2 separate regions of the Homo sapiens genome follow, and region 2 is linked to region 1. The links are contacts of gene promoters, found by promoter capture Hi-C in human tissues and cell types (Jung and others, 2019). All regions are on one chromosome and are shown on one strand. The core of a region is centred on a gene start or on the middle of the fragment in contact, and the rest is flanking DNA. Distances in the headings are between cores, read along the strand shown.

Region 1 (4,766 bases), core at 1,656-4,155:
CCGCCCTTTTCCAGCCCCCAGTCTCCTTTCATTCCCTACTCTTCAGGCTCCTTTGGGGCCAGTGGGTGAACCGCCATTTAGAACGGTGCCTCGGACTCGGGGGTCGTGCGCTCCATCTCTGCCTCCCCCCTGGGGCCCGCGAGGCTGGTCCGGGCTTTCTGAGCTGGGCGTTCGGCTTTAGGCCCAATACCTGGACCAGGAATTTCTTCTCCCCGCGCCAGAAGGGAAAGACATAGGAGGTGTCCCAATCTGCGGTCACCGCCGATGCTCCTGACCACTCTAGTGAGCACCTGCCCGGTACTTTTCCATTCCAACAGAGCTTCCAGCTTCATACTAACTATCCCACATACGGCCTGTGGGTATTAGCTCTAAGTGTCCTTTTCCGAGGGCCCGAGGCTCCCCCTCCAGCAGGGAGAGCTCCGGGACGGCCCCCACCAAGGGTTGGGTTTCTTCCTTCACAATTCCACAGAGGCATCCCTGTCCTTCCTACCTGGGAAACCTCGAGGTGCGGTGCCCGTGTACTTCTGGTACTTTGCGTGGTGCCATCAGGGACCCCAGAGCCACAGCTGCGTGTGTGTGTGGATGTGTGTGTGTGTGTGCGCGCGCGCGCGTGTACGGCGAAAGGATGTGCTTGGGGGAGCCGAGTACACAACGTCTGCTTGGGCAGCTGCTGGGCAGGCGTTGGGCCTGGAGGTATCTCACACCCACGTATCTTCCAGTCTTCAAACACGGCATTGCTCTGCCTCCCGTAGCGCGCTTCGAACCTGCCTCGCGGACACGTGAACAGAGGCTGTCCCTGGGAAGATAAGTGCGCTTTCCCGTAAAATCCGGGAAATTTGCCTTGAGGAAAGTTTCCGTTCTTGTTACTTGTCGGGTTTCTCCCACTTCCACTTAGCCATGTTTCTGCGATCTGGGTAATCCCTTTCAAGCCCAGGAGGAATTCTCCCGGGTCCATAATTGAGGGTCGGAAGCCGTGGGGGTGAGAAACGCATTAAATCCTCCCGAAGCCCAGGAGGTGCCAGAGCGGGCTCAGGGGGCCGCCTGCGGAAGCTGCGGCAGGGGCTGGGTCCGTAGCCTCTAACCCCTTGGAGCTCCTTCTCCCAGAGGCCCGGAGCCGGCAGCTGTCAGCGCAGCCAGGAGCGGGATCCTGGGCGCGGAGGTGGGTCCGACTCGCCAGGCTTGGGCATTGGAGACCCGCGCCGCTAGCCCATGGCCCTCTGCTCAAGCCGCTGCAACAGGAAAGCGCTCCTGGATCCGAAACCCCAAAGGAAAGCGCTGTTACTCTGTGCGTCCGGCTCGCGTGGCGTCGCGGTTTCGGAGCACCAAGCCTGCGAGCCCTGGCCACGATGTGGACTCCGCAAGGGGCTAGGGACAGGCAGGGGGAGAGCCCGGGTTTGCGCACACCTTCCAGCCCCTGGAGGGAGCCTGCTCGGCTTCGAACGCCTTCGAACTTTTGACCTTCAAAGGAGTCCCTGGAAAAGGTCAGGAGCGCCTGCTGCAGGCACGGTTGCCGAAGGCCAGGCCTTCCTGGCGCAGGGGAGGGCCAGGGGAGGGAAGCGGATACTCAGTCGCTGTCCGACGGCGAGTTTTCGGAGCAGCAGGCTCATGATCCCGGGCCAGTGGCGAGAGCAGTGACACCGAGAACCCAAATCTCCGCGCCCCCATCCGCGGCCCGGTGTCCTCCCGGCCCCTGCTGACCTCCAGGTCACGCACCCCACTGCTCCACGGCTCTGCAGCCTGTGGCACACGGCCGAGAGTCCCCACATGATCTCGACGCCAAGGTAAGGAATTGCCCTGCGTCCTCTGAGCCTGTCTCTGGCCTGGGGGGCCGGGAAAGCTGCACTCCTGGAAGAGGTGGGGTTATGTGACCGCCGCTGCAGGGGTGCGCGGAGGACTCCTGGGCCGCACACCCATTTCCAGGCTGCGGGAGCCGGACAGGGGAGGGCAGAGGGGGGACAAAAGGACTCTTTAGGTCCAAAATGACCCTGAAGGAGAGTCCAGAATGCCCAGTGGCCGCGTCTGCAACGGAGTCTTCTTTCTCCAATTGCCTTCTGCCCCATCACCATGGGCCCCACCTGCGCCACCTGCGCCCACCCTGTGACCCTGGCTCAGCGACCTTGGCCCTTAATCGCCCAACGCCGATTCCTCAAAATTCCGGCTGCGCTGAATCGGGCTGCTTTTGCCGCCGCCCCGGCAGTTGGGCCCTGTTTCCGCCGGCGCCCTGGGAGAGGCCTCACCACTCGGCTGGGCTCCCTGGCCCCTCCCTTCCCCTGGCCTGAGCGCCCCTGCGGCCTCCCGCTCCTCCTGAGAAGGCGACAATCTCTTTGCACCTTAGTGTTTCGAGGACAGAAAGGGCAGAAGGGTCACTTCGGAGCCACTCGCGCCGTTTTCACGTGTGTGTGTAATGGGGGGAGGGGGGCTCCCGGCTTTCCCCTTTTCAGCTCTTGGACCTGCAACACCGGGAGGGCGAGGACGCGGGACCAGCGCACCCTCGGAAGGCTCGATCCTCCCCGGCAGGGCGCCTGGCCAACGAGTCGCGCCGCCTCCTCTCGGCCGCGCCTGCTGGTGACCTTCCCGAGAGCCACAGGGGCGGCCTCGGCACCCCTCCTTCCCTCGCCCTCCCTGCCGCCCATCCTAGCTCCGGGGTCCGGCGACCGGCGCTCAGGAGCGGGTCCCCGCGGCGCGCCGTGTGCACTCACCGCGACTTCCCCGAACCCGGGAGCGCGCGGGTCTCTCCCGGGAGAGTCCCTGGAGGCAGCGACGCGGAGGCGCGCCTGTGACTCCAGGGCCGCGGCGGGGTCGGAGGCAAGATTCGCCGCCCCCGCCCCCGCCGCGGTCCCTCCCCCCTCCCGCTCCCCCCTCCGGGACCCAGGCGGCCAGTGCTCCGCCCGAAGGCGGGTCTGCCATAAACAAACGCGGCTCGGCCGCACGTGGACAGCGGAGGTGCTGCGCCTAGCCACACATCGCGGGCTCCGGCGCTGCGTCTCCAGGCACAGGGAGCCGCCAGGAAGGGCAGGAGAGCGCGCCCGGGCCAGGGCCCGGCCCCAGCCGCCTGCGACTCGCTCCCCTCCGCTGGGCTCCCGCTCCATGGCTCCGCGGCCACCGCCGCCCCTGTCGCCCTCCGGTCCGGAGGGGCCTTGCCGCAGCCGGTTCGAGCACTCGACGAAGGAGTAAGCAGCGCCTCCGCCTCCGCGCCGGCCGCCCCCACCCCCCAGGAAGGCCGAGGCAGGAGAGGCAGGAGGGAGGAAACAGGAGCGAGCAGGAACGGGGCTCCGGTTGCTGCAGGACGGTCCAGCCCGGAGGAGGCTGCGCTCCGGGCAGCGGCGGGCGGCGCCGCCGGGTTGCTCGGAGCTCAGGCCCGGCGGCTGCGGGGAGGCGTCTCGGAACCCCGGGAGGCCCCCCGCACCTGCCCGCGGCCCACTCCGCGGACTCACCTGGCTCCCGGCTCCCCCTTCCCCATCCCCGCCGCCGCAGCCCGAGCGGGGCTCCGCGGGCCTGGAGCACGGCCGGGTCTAATATGCCCGGAGCCGAGGCGCGATGAAGGAGAAGTCCAAGAATGCGGCCAAGACCAGGAGGGAGAAGGAAAATGGCGAGTTTTACGAGCTTGCCAAGCTGCTCCCGCTGCCGTCGGCCATCACTTCGCAGCTGGACAAAGCGTCCATCATCCGCCTCACCACGAGCTACCTGAAGATGCGCGCCGTCTTCCCCGAAGGTGAGGCCTCAGGTGGGCGGCCGGGGACGCTGGGGAGCCCGGCGGCCCCGGCCCAGGCGGGAAGCGCAAGCCAGCCCGCCCAGAGGGGTTGCCGCGGCCTGGCGTCCAGAGCTGGGGCGTCTGAGGGAGGTTGCGTGAGGGTCTTCGGCTTCGGCGCTGGCTTGGGGCGAGGGGCCAGGGCCTTGGCGGCCCAGGCGACCAAACCCTCTCCTGGTCCAGGGCTGGGTGAGGGCGAATTACGAATTGTTCCAGGGGCAGGCAGTCCCCCAGCCCGCACGGCCAGCGAGTTCTTTCTGGTTTTGTTCTTTCTCCCTTTCCTCCTTCCTTCCTTCGCCAGTGCATTCTGGTTTGGTTTGGATTTTTTTCTCTCTTTCTTTCCTTTCTTTCTTTCTTTCTCTTTCTTTTTCTTTCTTTCTTCCTCTTTCTTTCATTCTCCCCTTCCTTCCTTCCTTGGCCCCCTCTCTCCCTCCCTCCTTCCTTCCTTCCTTTGCCAATGCATTGGTTTGTTTTCTTTCCTTTTCTGCTTTCCTTCCTTTCTTTGGAAGTTCACTCTGGTTTTGCTTTCTTTCTTTCCCCATCCCTTCCTTTCTTTATCCCTCCTTCCCTTCCTCCTTTTCTTTCTACGATTCCCTTTATTTTTCCTTCATTCCTCCCTCTTTTTGTCTCTTCTGGAGGAGGTGAAGGAGGGTCAGCTTCAGGCGCTGCGAGTCAGCGGGGATCACGGTGAGGCCCAAGCACTGCAGGCTGAGGCCACAGAGCGAACACTTGTGCTGAGCCGGGCCCTCTCGTGAGGCTGGGGTGCGGGAAGTCCGGGCAGGAGAGACCCGCCCCCGCCGTTGCTGAGCTGAGACCCGGCTGAAAGAGAGGGGTCCGATTAATTCGAAAATGGCAGACAGAGCTGAGCGCTGCCGTTCTTTTCAGGATTGAAAATGTGCCAGTGGGCCAGGGGCGCTGGGACCCGCGGTGCGGAAGACTCGGAACAGGAAGAAATAGTGGCGCGCTGGGTGGGCTGCCCCGCCGCCCACGCCGGTTGCCGCTGGTGACAGTGGCTGCC
Region 2 (4,599 bases), core at 1,718-4,217, 260 kb after region 1:
GCTCGCGCCTGTATTCCCAGCTACTAGGGAGGCTGAGGCAGGAGAATCACTTGAACCCGGGAGGCAGAGGTTGCAGTGAGCTATCACACCACTGCACTCCAGCCTGGCGACAGAGCGAGATTCCATCTCAAAAATAAAATAAAATAAAATAAAAAGTATAGGCCAGGTGCAGTGGCTCACACCCATAATCTCAGCACTTTGGGAGGCTGAGGCAGGCAGATCACGAGGTCAGGAGATCGAGACCATCCTGGCTAACATGGTGAAACCCTGTCTCTACTAAAAAAATACAAAAAATTAACCAGGCGTGGTGGCGGGCGCCTGTAGTCCCAGCTACTTGGGAGGCTGAGGCAGGAGAATGGCGTGAACCTGGGAGGTGGAGCTTGCAGCGAGCCGAGATGCGCCACTGCACTCCAGCCTGGGCGACAGAGCAAGACTCAGTCTCAAAAAAAGAAAAAAAAGTATAGCACAGACAATTACATACAGTACACAGTACCTGATAATAAACAACTGTTACTGGTTTATGTGTTTTCTATGTTTTCTATTATTTTAGAGTGTACTCCTTCTACTTATTAAAAAAACAAAACAAAACAAAACAAAACAAAAAAAACAGCTGGGTGTGGTGCCTCATGCCTGTAATCCCAGCACTTTGGGAGGCCGAGGCGGGGGGATCACTTGAGGTCAAGGGTTTGAGACCAGTCTGGCCACCATGTGAAACCTCATCTCTGCTAAAAATATAAAAATTAGCCAGGTGTGGTGGCAGGCACCTGTAATCCCAGCTACTTGGGAGGCTGAGGCAGGAGAATTGCTGGAACCTGGGGCCGGAGGTTGCAATGAGCCAAGATAGTGCCATTGAACTCTAGCCTGGGCAGCAGAGTGAGATTCTGTCTCAAAAAAAACCCAACAAAACAGTTAACTGTAACAGCCTGAGGCAGGTCCTTCAGGAGCTACTGTGGGGGAAGGCATTGTTATCACAGGAGTTCACTGCTCCATGCACGTTACTGCCCGTGAAGACCTTCCAGGAGGACACATGTGCAGTGAAAGTCAGTGATACTGATGATCCTGACCCTGGGCAGCCTAGACTAATGTGTGTGTTTCTACGTTAGTTTTTAGCAAAAAAAGTTTAAAAAGTAAGAAACAGGCTGGACATGGTGGCTCACAACTATAATTCCAGTGCTTGGTGAGGGCTGAGGTGAGAGGACTGCTTGAAGCCAGGAGTTGGAGATCAGTCTAGGAAACATAGCAATTTGTATGTTCACAAATTTGTAGAGATAAATAAATGAAAATAAGAATAAAATTTTAAAAACAAAATTTTTTTTTAAATATATAAAATCTTAGAAAAAAGCTTTTAGAATAAGGATAGAAAGAAAATATTTTTTACAGCTGTACAATGTGTTTGTTTTAAGCTGTTATTACGAAAGAATCAAAAATTTTAAAAAATCAAGTTTATAAAGTAAAAATATGATAGTAAGCTAAGATTAATTTATTATCGAAGAAGAAGGCTGTTATAAATTCAGTGTAGCCTAAGTGTACAGTGTTTATAAAGTCTAAAGTAGTGACTGTTGTGTCCTAGGCTTTCACATTCACACGCCACTCACTCACTGACTCGCCCTGAGCCACTTTCAGTCCTGTAAGCTCCATTCATAGCAAGTGCCCTAGACAGGTGTACTGTTTTTTATCTTTTATACTGTATCTTTACTGTGCCTTTTCTATGTTTAGATACACAAATACTTACCACTGTGTTACAGCTGCCTACAGTATCCAATGCAGTAACATGCTGTACAGGTTTATAGCCTAGGAGCAATAGGCTACCCCATAAATCCCAGGTGTAAAGTAGGCTACAGCATCTAGACTTGTATAAGTACACTCTATGATGTTTGCATGATGAAATCACCTAAGGACGCATTTCTCACAATGTGTATCTGTCGTGAAGCAACACATTAACTATAATGTATACGAATTATGTAAGTGTTCAAAAACGTGGTGTCTGTTAATCCAGACAACTTAAAAATCTAAAAAGAAACTGGGAGGAGGGGTAGGGGGAGTCATGAGGAAGGAGCAGGAGCAAGTAGATGGACTCAGGGGGTGGGGAGGCACGTGTAGTTCTAGCGGTGAGTTCATGGGTATTTATTGTATTATTTCAAATCCACAGGTGAATGAGATCCATGCATAAACCAACGATGAGAGTACATTTGGAACAAGGAGTATGGTTAACCCAATTCTGTGTACCTAGAGTCCTAAAATGAAATGAAATATTTTAAGATATTTGAGTTTGTAGGCCAGGTGTGGTGGCTCACACTTGTAATCCCAGCACTTTGGGAGGCCGAGGTGGGCAAATCACAAGGTCAGGAGATCAAGACCATTCTGGCTAACACGGTGAAACCCCATCTCTACTAAACATACAAAAAAAATTAGCCGGGTGTGGTGGTGGGCGCCTGTAGTCCCAGCTACTCGGGAGGCTGAGGCAGGAGAATGGCATGAACCCGGGAGGCAGGGTTGGCAGTGAGCCGAGATCGTGCCACTGCACTCTAGCCTAGGCAACAGAGCGAGACTCCGTCTCAAAAATAAATAAATAAATAAAAAATAAATAAAAGTCCAAGGAGCCAGAATGGTGGCTCATGGCTGTATCACAGCACTTCGGGAGGCTGAGGCGGGCAGATCACCTGAGGTCAGGAGTTCAAGACCCACCCTGGCCAACATGGTAAAACCCCGTCTCTACTAAAAATACAAAAAATTAGCCGGGTATGGTGGCAGGTGCCTGTAATTCCAGCTACTTGGGAGGCTGAGGCAGAAGAATCGCTTGAACCCAGGAGGTAGATGTTGCAGTGAGCCAAGATTGCACCACTGCAGTCCAGCCTGGACAACAGAGCCAGACTCCGTCTCAAAAAAAAAAAAAAAAAAAGCCCAAGGAATTGGTTACTGATAGAATCTGGAAGTTTGTCCCCTCCAAATCTCACGTTGAAATGTAATCCCCAGTGGTTGAGGTGGGGCCTGTGGGGGAAGTGTTTGGGTAATGGGAACAGATCCCTCATGAATAGTGTGGTGCTGTCCTCCCTATAGTGAGTGAGTTCTCACAAGACCTGGTTGTTTAAAAATGTGTGGCACCTCCCCCAGCTCAGTCTCACTCTCATTCTTGCCATGTGACACACCTGCACCTCTGTCACTTTCTGCCATGACTGTTCCTCAAGGCCCTCACCAGAAGCACATGCTGGCACCACTCTTCCTGTATGGCTCGCAGAACCTCTTCTTTATAAATTATCCAGCTCCAGGTATTTCTTTATAGCAATGCAAGAACTGCCTAATACAGTTACCATATGACAAGGCCTCTTTGTAGTTCAAAAAGAAAAGCCAGATATTAGCAATTTCATGTGATTTGACCTACTTGATTATTTAATTTATATTTTCAATAAATTCAAAATCATTTTTAAAATAAAAATAAAGTTTATGAATCGTCTTTTCTGCATATGAAAATTAGCCCTGAATTGGCTGGGCGCAGTGGCTCATGCCTGTAATCCCAGCATTTTGGGAGGCAGAGGCAGGCGGATCACGAGGTCAGGAAATCATCCCGACTAACATGGTGAAACCCCGTCTCCACTAAAAATACAAAAAATTACCTGGGCGTTGTGGCACGCGCCTGCAGTCCCAGCTACTCGGGAGGCTGAGGAAGGAGAATGGCATGAACCCGGGAGGCAGAGCTTGCAGTGAGCCGAGATCGCGCCACTGCACTTCGGCCTGGGCAACTGAGCAAGACTGCGTCTCGAAAAAAAAAAAAAAGAGGCCGGGCGCGGTGGCTCACGCCTGTAATCCCAGCACTTTGGGAGGCCGAGGCAGGTGGATCCCAAGGTCAGGAGATCGAAACCATCCTGGCTAACATGGTGAAACACCGTCTCTACTAAAAATACAATAAATAAATAAATAAATAAATTAGCCGGATGTGGCAGCATGTGCCTGTAGTCCCAGCTACTCGGGTGGCTGAGGCAGGAGGATGGCGTCAACCTGGGAGGCGGAGCTTGCAGTGAGCCGAGATCGCGCCACTGCACTCCAGCCTGGGCGACAGAGTGAGACTGTCTCAAAAAAAAAAAAAAAAGAAAGAAAGAAAGAAAGAAAATTAGCCCTGAGTTCACCAAAACCGTCGTATCAACAGCTGGTCGTCTTCTACCAAACATAAGAGACACAAGTACTGTTTGACTGGACCTAGGTTAATAAAAGCTTTATTTTGGAATCTCAATGATCTAGATCTCTTTAAAACCATTAATTCGTTCTCTAGTTACTAGAAAGGATAGAAGCATTGGTTAAAATCTTATCTCTCACTTAGCAGCTGGTTAAAACCTTGTCTAGGCCGGGAACAGTGGCTCACGCCTGTAATCCTAGCACTTTGGGAGCCTGAGGCAGGCAGATTGCCTGAGCTCAGGAGTTCGAGACCAGCCTGGGCAACACGGTGAAACCCGGTCTCTGCTAAAATACAAACAATTAGCTGGGCGTGGCAGCGTGCGCCTGTAGTCCCAGCTACTTGGGAGGGTGAGGCAGGAGAATTGCTTGAACCCGGGAGGTGGAGGTTGCAGTGAGCTGAGATCGCACCACTGCACTCCAGCCTGGGCAACA

Evidence for each region. The method cuts DNA at HindIII sites, captures the fragments that hold promoters and counts their contacts. A contact is called where the count stands out against the background at its distance.
Region 2: a fragment that was not itself captured here is called in contact with the fragment with the promoter of SIM2 in region 1 in 3 of the 25 tissues and cell types used here (H1 embryonic stem cells, aorta and stomach).

What each region holds. Positions count from the first base shown.
Region 1 is chr21:36,696,210-36,700,975 of GRCh38, forward strand. SIM2 (SIM bHLH transcription factor 2) reads left to right here and starts at 2,906. Exons shown (of 11, transcript NM_005069.6): 1 at 2,906-3,712. The coding sequence starts at 3,538. It overlaps LOC105369308 (a long non-coding RNA gene), which reads right to left and starts at 2,782. Exons shown (of 3, transcript NR_188246.1): 1 at 2,700-2,782. It overlaps LOC107985492 (a long non-coding RNA gene), which reads left to right and starts at 4,307. Exons shown (of 4, transcript XR_001755029.1): 1 at 4,307-4,766. RefSeq lists enhancers at 1-297, 4,133-4,726, 4,727-4,766. The HindIII fragment of the contact is 19,577 bases long and covers 1-4,766 here.
Region 2 is chr21:36,954,173-36,958,771 of GRCh38, forward strand. All of the region lies in intron 2 of HLCS (holocarboxylase synthetase), which reads right to left. Among named protein-coding and RNA genes, the nearest start is that of HLCS-AS1, 10 kb to the right of the region's middle. The HindIII fragment of the contact is 4,964 bases long and covers 486-4,599 here.